3 separate regions of the Homo sapiens genome follow, and regions 1 and 2 are each linked to region 3. The links are contacts of gene promoters, found by promoter capture Hi-C in human tissues and cell types (Jung and others, 2019). All regions are on one chromosome and are shown on one strand. Each heading gives the region's core, a stretch centred on a gene start or on the middle of the fragment in contact. The rest is flanking DNA. Distances are from core to core; before and after follow the strand shown. Region 1 has its middle 39 kb from the start of PTPN5. Region 2 has its middle 62 kb from the start of PTPN5. Region 3 holds the start of PTPN5 (protein tyrosine phosphatase non-receptor type 5).

Region 1 (2,905 bases), core at 255-2,754, 39 kb after region 3:
GTAGCAAGGCAAGGGAAGTTTTCCTCCATTATTCCCTCAAATATGTTTTCCAAACTTTTAGATTTCTCTTCTTCCTCAGTAACACCAATTATTCTTAGGTTTGGTTGTTTAACATAATCCCAACCTTCTTGGAGGCTTCATTCATTTTTTTAATTCTTTTTCCTTTGTCTTTGTTGGATTGGGTTAATTTAAAAAATCTTGTCTTTGAGCTCTGAAGGTCTTTCTTCTGCTTGTACAATTCTATTGCCAAGACTTTCCAGTGCATTTTGCATTTCTCTAAGTGTGTCCTTTATTTCCAGAAGTTGTGATTATTTTTTATTTATGTTATCTATTTCACTGAAGATTTTTCCCTTCATATCTTGTATTTTTTTTATTTCATTAAGTTGGACTTAACCTTCCTCTGGTGCCCCCTTGATTAGCTTAATAATCAACCTTCTGAATACTTTTTCTGGCAATTCAGGGATTTCTTCTCGGTTTGGATCCATTGCTACTGAGCTAGTGTGATCTTTTGGGGGTATTAAAGAACCTTGTTTTGTCATATTACCAGAATCATTTTTCTGTTCCTTCTCATTTAGGTAGACTACCATGAAGGGAAGCTCTGGGGCTCAAGGGCTGATATTGCTGGTGTTCAGATTCTTTTGTCCCATGGAGTGCTCCTTTGATGTAGTGCTCTCCCCCTTTTCCTAGGGATGTGGTTTCCTGAGAGCTGAACTGTAGTGATTGTTATTCCTTTTCTGGATCTATCCACCCAGAGGAGATACTCAGCTCTGGGCTGGTATCAGGGGGTGTCTGCACAGAGTCCTGTGATGTGAACTGTCTTCAGGTCTCTCAGCCATGGATAGCAGCATGGTTTTTGGGCTGTCTCCTGGGGTCTGCAGGAACAATTTTCTTCCTTCAAAGGGTCTGTGTGGATTCTTTTGGCTTTCCTGGTATGTTGTTGAGGATTTTAACATGAAGAGATGTTGAATTTCAGTGAGAATCTTTTCTGCATCTATTGAGATAATCATGTGTTTTTTTTTTTAGTTCTGCTTATGTGCTGAATCATATTTATTAATTTGTGTATGTTGAACCCACCTTGCATCCCAGGAATAAAGCCTACTTGATTATGGTGGATTAGCTCTTTGGTTTGCTAGTATTTTGTTAAGGACTTTTGCATCTATATTCATGAAGGATAGTGGCCTAAAATTTTTCTTTTTTTGTTGTGTCCCTGCCAGGTTTTGGTATCAGAATGATGTTAGCCTCATAGGTTGAGTTTGGGAGGAGTCCCTCTTGCTCAATTTATTGGAATAGATTCAGAAGGATTGGGACTAGCTCATTTAAAGCTCATTATTGGTGTGTTCAGGGATTCAGTTTCTTCCTGATTCAATCTTGGGAGGTTGTGTTTCCAGGAATTTATTCCTTTCCTCTAGATTTCCTAGTTTGTTTGCATGAAGGTGTTCATAATAGTGTCTGAGGATCTTTCGTATTTCTGTGGAATTGGTCATAATGTCATCTTTCTTGTTATTGATTATGCTTATTTGGATGTTCTCTCTTTTTTTCTTTATTAATCTAGCTAGCAGTCTATTGATCTTGTTTATCCTTTGAAAGAACCAAGTTTTGCTTTTATTAATTTTTTTGTATACATTTTTGGGTCTCAAAATGTTCTGCTCTGATTTTAGTTATTTGATTTCTTCTACTAGCTTTGGTGTTAATTTGTTCTTGTTTTTCCAGTTCCTCTAGGTGTGATGTTAGAGCATTAATTTGAGATCTTTCTAACTTTTTGAGGTAGGTGCTAAGTGCAGTCAACTTTCTTCTTACCACTGCTCTTGCTGCATCCTAGAGATTTTGATATGTGGTGTGATGTTTTCATTTATTTCGAAGAATTTTTTGGTTTCTGCCTTAGTTTTCCTGTTTACCAAAAAGTCATTCAGGAGCAAGTTGTTTAATTTCATGTAATTCTGTGATTTTGAGAGAGCTTCTTGGTGTTGATTTCTGTTTTTATTCCACTGTGGTCTGAGAGTATGATTTAAAAAATTTTTTTGCACATAAATCAGAACCTCAATGCGATACACCTTACTCCTGCAAAAATGGCCATAATCAAAAAATTAAAAAAAAAATGTTGACAGGGATGCGGTGAAAAAGGAACACTTTTACACTGATGGTGGGAATGCACACTAGTACAACCACTATGGAAAACAGTGTAGAGATTCCTTAAAGAACTAAAGTCATTATATGAAAAAGGTACTTGCGCATGCATGTTTATAGCAGCACAATTTGTGATTGCAAAAGTATAGAACCAGCCCAAATGCCAATTAATCAATGAGTGGATAAAGAAAATGTTTTATAAATAAATATATATATATATATATACACACACACACACACACAAACACACACACATAAGTATATATATACACGTATGGAATACACACACACACACACACACACACACTCAGGAATGGAAAACGAAACGTTGTATGTTTTCACTCATAAGTGGGAGCTAAGCTATGAGGATCAAAAGGCATAAGAATGATGCAACGGACTTTAGGGACTTCGGGGAAAGTGGGAGCGGGTGAGGGACAAAAGACTACACATTGGGTATTGGGTACACTGCTCAGGTGATGGGTGCACCAAAATCTCATAAATCACCATTAAAAACTTATTCATGTAACCAAACACCACCTGTTCCCCCTAAATCTATTGAAATAATAAAAAAAGTATTACATGTGATTGATCATGAAGTATGTTCATTGTGCAAAACAGAAAAATGTATATTTTGTGTTTGATGGGTGGTGTATTCTGCAGGTGTCTATTAGGTTAATTTGGTTAAGTGTTGAGTTCAGGTCCCAGATATCTTTGTTAGTTTTCTGCCTCAGTACCTGCCTAATGCTGTCAGGGAGATGTTGAAGTTTCTCAGTATTATTGT
Region 2 (2,938 bases), core at 272-2,771, 62 kb after region 3:
CCATTGCCTTGAAGGGAAAAACCTAGTCCTGGCACCATTCATCACCTGCTAACTGAAGAGCCCTTGGGCCCTGAATAACCATCAACAATACCCAGGTACTATGTTGAAGGCCATTCTTCAGCGATCTGGCAGTGGGGCCACACAGGCATTTTAGTCTCAGGCCAGAGATTGGAGTCCTTACTCTGGAGCAGGTTAGGAGCCTCTATGGCCAGAACTGTGGAAAATGCCTCAGCAGTAGGTGCTAGAATTGTGCTTTCCCCCATCACAAGCCTGGGGTGGCAAGAGAGCTGATACAGCTGCAGTTTCTCCTAGGTGGTGAGACTAGGGCCAGCGCCAGCTTGGTGATCTGGAACCAGTCTGCATGTGTCATTTCTGGGTACTCCAGCCTGCTCCCCTGAGACTGTGGTGTAGCAGGGCCCACTCTGCCCAATATCCAGGCAGAAATCCAGGTATTTAGAATACCCATTTTCCTGGACCAGCAGCCTGAGCTACCCTACCCTTCATGGGCATAGATCAAGGTACAGCAAGGCCCTCTTTGCTCCATGCCCAGGTAGATCTCCAGGGATTCAGAGCACCCGCTCATCTGGATTAGCAACCTGAGCAGCCCCACCCTTCCTGTGCAGAGATCCTGGTTCGTGGAGGCCCTCACTGCATCACATCCAGGTATACCTCCAGGCATCTGGAGCACTTGCTCTTCTGTTTCAGCAGGCTGAGCTATCCCACCCTTCCTGGACATAGATTATGATACAGTGAGGCCCTCTCTACTTTATGCCCAGGTAGACCTCCAGGCATCTGGGACACCTACTCTTCTGGATTAGCAGTTTAGGCCACCCCCATCCCTATGCAGAGAACTTGGGGCCAAGGAGGTTTCCCAGCTCCACACCTAGGCACACCTCAGGGCACTTGGTGGCTGCCCACTGGATGCTGGTGTGTGTGTCTCCTACTGGGTGACCCGTAGGTGGAACTGCATGATTGGGCTCTGCCCATCTTGGTCTCCATCCATCTCGGCTCCCACCCATCTTAGTCTCTGCCTTCCTGGGGCTGAACAGGGAGCTCAAACCACTGTGCACTTTAGGAAGCAGCCCACAGCGTGAGGCGATAGGGAATTTCTCTCAGTAAGAAAGAATCAAGTACATACCTAGCATTGTTGGCCACAGCCATCTCTTACCTGTAAGTGCCATCTACTGGCTTGTAGGTTGAACTGCACAACCTAATATAAAACCTGCCAACAGATGTGCATAGTGCTATAGAAGCAAAGCCAAAAATCCTACTCAGCATTCTCTGCAGTCCCATCCCCTAGTGAGAGAGGAAAGGGAAAGGGAAAGGGAAAGAAAAAAAAAAACCCCAATAATATTACATATGAAGACGGAAAAAAATCAAAATAATTACCAAAATTAGAAATGCCAGCAACCCCAGATAAGAAGGAGGCTGCATAAGAATTCTGGCACCATGAAAAATCTGAATGCTGTGACACTACCAAAGGATCACACTAGATCTCTAGCAATGGTCTCTAACCAAAATGGAAACTCAGAAATGACAGATAAAGAATTCAAAGCATTGATCACAGGGAAGCTCAGTGAGATCCAAGACAAGGTTGAAAATCAACACAAAGATACTTCTAAAGCAATCCAGAAAATGAAGGAAGAGATAAACATCCTAAGAATAAATCAATCAGAACTTCTGGAATTGAAAATCTCACTTAAGGATTTTCAAAATATAATTGAAAGCTTTATCTATAGACTAGACTAAGCAGATAAAAGGATTTCAGAGCTTGAAGACTGCTCTTTTCAACTAACCTGTTAGACAAAAATAAAGAAAAAAGAATTTTATAAAGTGAACAAAGTCTTCAAGAAATGTGAGATTATGGAAAGTGACCAAACCTATAAATTATAGGCCTTCCTGACAGAGAAGGAGAAAAAGTAAAGAACCTGGAAAAATATTTGAGAAAATAATTTAAGAAAATTTCCCTAATCTGGCTAGAGAGGTAGACAGCCAGATATAAGAAATCCAGAGAACACTTGCAAGATACTATATAAAACAAACATCATCAAGGCATATAGTCACCAGATTGTCCAAATATCAATGCCAAAGAAAAAAATCTTAAAGGCAGCAAAAAGAAAAGGTCAGGTCACATGCAAAGGGAACCCAATCAGGATAACTGTGGCCTTCTCAGCAGAAATATTATAAGCTAGGAGAGATTGGGGGTCTTTTTTCAACATTCTTAAAGAAAAGAAATTTCAACCAAGAATTTCATATCCCACCAAGCTAAGCTTCATAAGCAAGGGAGAAAGAAAATAATTTCCATATAGGCAAGTGCTAGGGGAATTTTTTTGCCATTAGACTAGCCTTACAAGAGATCCTTAAGGGAGTTCTAAATATGGAAACAAAAAAATGATACATGTTACCACCAAAAACGCGCTTAAGCACATAGCCCACAGACTGTGTAAAGCAACCACGCAATAGAAACTACAAAGCAACCAGCTAACAACTTAATGACAAGATCAAAATATCACACATCAATACTAACCTTATATGTAAATGGTCTAAATGCCCCCAGTACACTTGTATGCAAATGATCGAAATGCCCACAACTTGCTCCTGAATGACCTTTGGGTAAACAATGAAATTAAGGCAGATATCAAAAAATTATTTGAAATAAATGAACACAAAGACACAACATACCAAAATCTCTGGGATGCAGCAAAAGCAGCATTAAGAGGAAAATTTATAGTGCTGAACAACTACCTCAAAAGTTAGAAAGGTCTTAAATTAACAATGGTCTAAGTGTCCCACTTTAAAGAAACAGAGTGGCAAGTTAGATTAAAAAAGACCCATTCATTTGCTGTCTTCAAGTGAGCCATCTCACACATAATGACACCCATATCCTCAAAGTAAAGGGTTTGAGAAAGGTCTACCATGTAGATGAAAAACAAAAAAC
Region 3 (3,213 bases), core at 196-2,695:
ACTGGGAGGGCATGCAGTCAGGACACAGTGGAGAAGAGGACGAATCCTGGGATGCCACATCACCTGGTCCAACTGAGGACACTCAGGCTCAGTGTGTCCTGGGTGGATCAGGACTAACGCCTGGGAATCTGATCTCAGGTCCTGGGCTTCTTCATTCTCCCAAACGAATCCCAAACCCGGAGTGTTTGAGTGTTATGAGAGCTCTCCTTTGAGGTTGAAGGAAGCAAATTAAAGCCCCCTCTCCCCTTTTTTTGGTACCATAGGTAGGGAAGGTAGAAAATGAATGGCACCTGCCCCTCCAAGTGGGGCAGGGCTGGAATTACACACTTTCGTGGTACACTCAGGTGAATTTTGGGGTTCTGGGGCTTCAATGTGGGTGGGATCTAGTTGTGTAGGAGGGGAGCATGAGTATGAAAACCAGGAACCCTAGATTCTAATGAAAGCTTTACCACTAACTCTCTGGTGACCTTGGTCCGCCACCTTACTGGGCCTCAGTTTCCCCATCTGTAAAATGAGAAGGTTGAATAAGTTCCCAGGATTCGTCTGGCCCTGATCTTCTAAGCCCTGTGATCCTTGATAAGGTAAGCCTCCCAAGGCTCTGACCCGGGCAATCTCCGGTTTTGCAGGAGCCTGGGCCTCAACCAGAAACAAGCAGCATGCTGGGGGAGGGGAGCGCGCTAAGCTTGTATTCTAGGGGAGGGTGGGACGCGGGAGGCTAAAGCTAAAGGGTCGGTGGAGGCGAAGCAATGGGAAGGCTGGGAGCCGCGCTTTAGAGGCCAGAAGGCTAGCGGCGATTTCCAATCTCCCTCAGGGGCTTCAGGCTCCGGAGAGGCGATGCAGCCCAGAGCCGCGCACCAGCCTCCGCCGGCCGCAGAGGCTCAGACCCCAAACCACTATCCCGATTCCTCCCCGGAACCGCGCACGGGCTTCGTGGGGAGTGGCTGCCGCTCCCTCCCGGCTACCAAGCGACAAGCCCCCTCCTCTGCATGGGGGACCCCTCCCCCAGCATGCGGGCGCCCAGAGCCCCACGGGGGCGTGGCGGGGGCGGGCGCCGGCTCCTCGGCCGGGAGGGCTGGAGAAGGTGTCAGTTGCGGGGCCGCCCGAAGGAGGGACCCGCGCCCTCCACCTTCCGGCTCCGCACACAAAGGCGCAGACGGAGGCGCCGCACTTACCGGCCAGAGCGGGCTCCGGGCGCCGGCGAGCAGGCGGGCAGGCTGGCGGGAGGATGCGCGCGCGAGTGTGCGTGTGTCTGCGTGTGTCCCTGCTTGTGTCTGTGCCAGTGTGTATGCGACGGGGGCCGCGCCGAGCTCTGTGCGTCTGCGTGTGCGGGGGCGTCCGTCCTTCGGTGCCTCCGTCCTTCGGTCCGTCCGCCTGGCGCTCCGTCCCGCGCTCCGTGCGCGCTCCCTCGCCCGACCGCCTCACCAAATGCGCTTCAGCTGCAGAGTCGCTGGCGCAGCCGCCGGGTGGGTTTGGCACCCCCCAGCCCCGGCTCCGCCCCGCCCCCGGGCGGGCTTCCGCCGCTCGCCGGGAATTGCGCAGGGCTGGCGGGGCGGGGGACCGGGAGAGCGGCCTGCTCCCGGGGCACGAAGGGGGCCGGATCACAGACCCTTAACCCCTGACCTCATCTCAGGTGCCTCCCTCTCCCGAGCAACTCTGCGCGGAGTCTCCGCAGTCGTCGCCCCCATGCCAAGGTTGCTTGGACAAGGAGGGCGGAGGAGTGGGAGCAGCGCATCCATTTCATTCATGATTTTTTCTCCTCTTGGGAGCCCCGGGTCGGGCCGCGCGGCTACGGCAACTGCCAGAGGGACCCCGGCAGGGCCGTGCGCGCTGAACCTGGGACGGGACAGACAGGCAGACAGAAGGAGTAGGGGCCAGCGAGACAAAGGGGGCAGAGTTGGGGGAGGGAGTCGGCTCATTGGGGGCATGCCGTGGCGCTCCCCGCATGTTGCCAACACCTGCGCAAGTGGAGCGGCCCCATACTAGGGCGCATGCAATACCAGGTGCCGAGGACTCGTTCTAGGACGCTGAGGAGGCGTCCTTTTTCCCAGTTCTCCCTGTTCAGCCTCTGGGGAGCTAGAGCGAGTGGACAGCCCCTCCCTCCACTGAGTCTTGCCCTCCTGACGTGCGGCGCGGGGCACGCACCTGTTTTGGTTTTCTCGTGGGCACCAGGGGCCCGGACGAGCAGGGAGCTGCCCATGTGCCCCACAATCCTGCCACAATCTTCCGTATTCTCCAGGCTGCTAGTGCGCTGGCCAGAGGTTTCCGGCATTCCATCCCCATGGGGGCTTGAGGCTGTGGGCTGCACACAGGGCAGGGATCCTAAACTCCATTTTTTACACGGGGAATCAGAGGCGAGCCACCACGTAGCTACCACCCTGGTTCCAGCCACCATCCACCCCCGCCCCCCGGGATTTCCATTATAGTCTCTTTACTGGTCTCCCAGCTTCCACCCTTGGCCCCCTGCAGCTGATTCTCTACACAGCAGTCAAGGCGATCCTTTAAAATTTAAGTCAGAGCACGTCGTTCCTTTACTGGAAATCCTACACTAGCACTCCATTTCATCCAAGGGAAAGTTAAAGGCCCCTCATGACCTGCAAAGCCCTTCAGGAACTGGCTCCTTTTTAGCTCTTTAACCTCTCTTTCTACCACCCTCCCCCTTCTCCCACGCTCCAGTCACATTGGCCTTTTTAATGCATCATCGGCGTGGCAGCCCTGTGGCCTCAGGACCTTTGCACTGCTGGTCTGTCTGCCTGGAAACTCTTCCCTCTGATAGTCACACGGCTACTCCTTTACCTCTTCAAAGTGTCACTCCCCCCACCCCCCCGCCCCCGAGACGGAGTCTTGCTCTGTCGTCCAGGCTGGAGTGCAGTGGCTCCATCTCAGCTCACTGCAACCCCTGCCTCCTGGGTTCAAGCGATTCTCCTGTCTCAGCCTTCCGAGTAGCTGGGACTACAGGCGCCCGCCACCATGCCCAGCTAATTTTTGTATTTTTAGTTGAGACGGGGTTTCGCCATGTTGGCCGGGCTGGTCTCGAACTCCTGACCTCATGATCCGCCCGTCTTGGCCTCCCAAAGTGCTGGGATTACAGGCGTGAGCCACCCTGCCCAGGCTCAATGTGTCGCTTCTAAGATAATTGCTGTAACTATCCTGTTTAAAGTTGCTGGCCCTCCCTCCTCATTTTCTCCATGCAGCTATGACTTTTATTTCTGTTCC

What was found. Contacts are between HindIII fragments. The study calls those that stand out against the background at their distance.
Region 1: a fragment that was not itself captured here is called in contact with the fragment with the promoter of PTPN5 in region 3 in 1 of the 25 tissues and cell types used here (bladder).
Region 2: a fragment that was not itself captured here is called in contact with the fragment with the promoter of PTPN5 in region 3 in 1 of the 25 tissues and cell types used here (pancreas).

The regions. Positions count from the first base shown.
Region 1 is chr11:18,829,272-18,832,176 of GRCh38, forward strand. No RefSeq gene overlaps it. Among named protein-coding and RNA genes, the nearest start is that of PTPN5, 39 kb to the left of the region's middle. The HindIII fragment of the contact is 5,292 bases long and covers 1-2,905 here.
Region 2 is chr11:18,852,338-18,855,275 of GRCh38, forward strand. No RefSeq gene overlaps it. Among named protein-coding and RNA genes, the nearest start is that of PTPN5, 62 kb to the left of the region's middle. RefSeq lists enhancers at 896-1,025, 1,246-1,295. The HindIII fragment of the contact is 3,963 bases long and covers 1-2,938 here.
Region 3 is chr11:18,790,353-18,793,565 of GRCh38, forward strand. It overlaps PTPN5 (protein tyrosine phosphatase non-receptor type 5), which reads right to left and starts at 1,446. Exons shown (of 15, transcript NM_006906.2): 1 at 1,173-1,446. The HindIII fragment of the contact is 10,569 bases long and covers 151-3,213 here.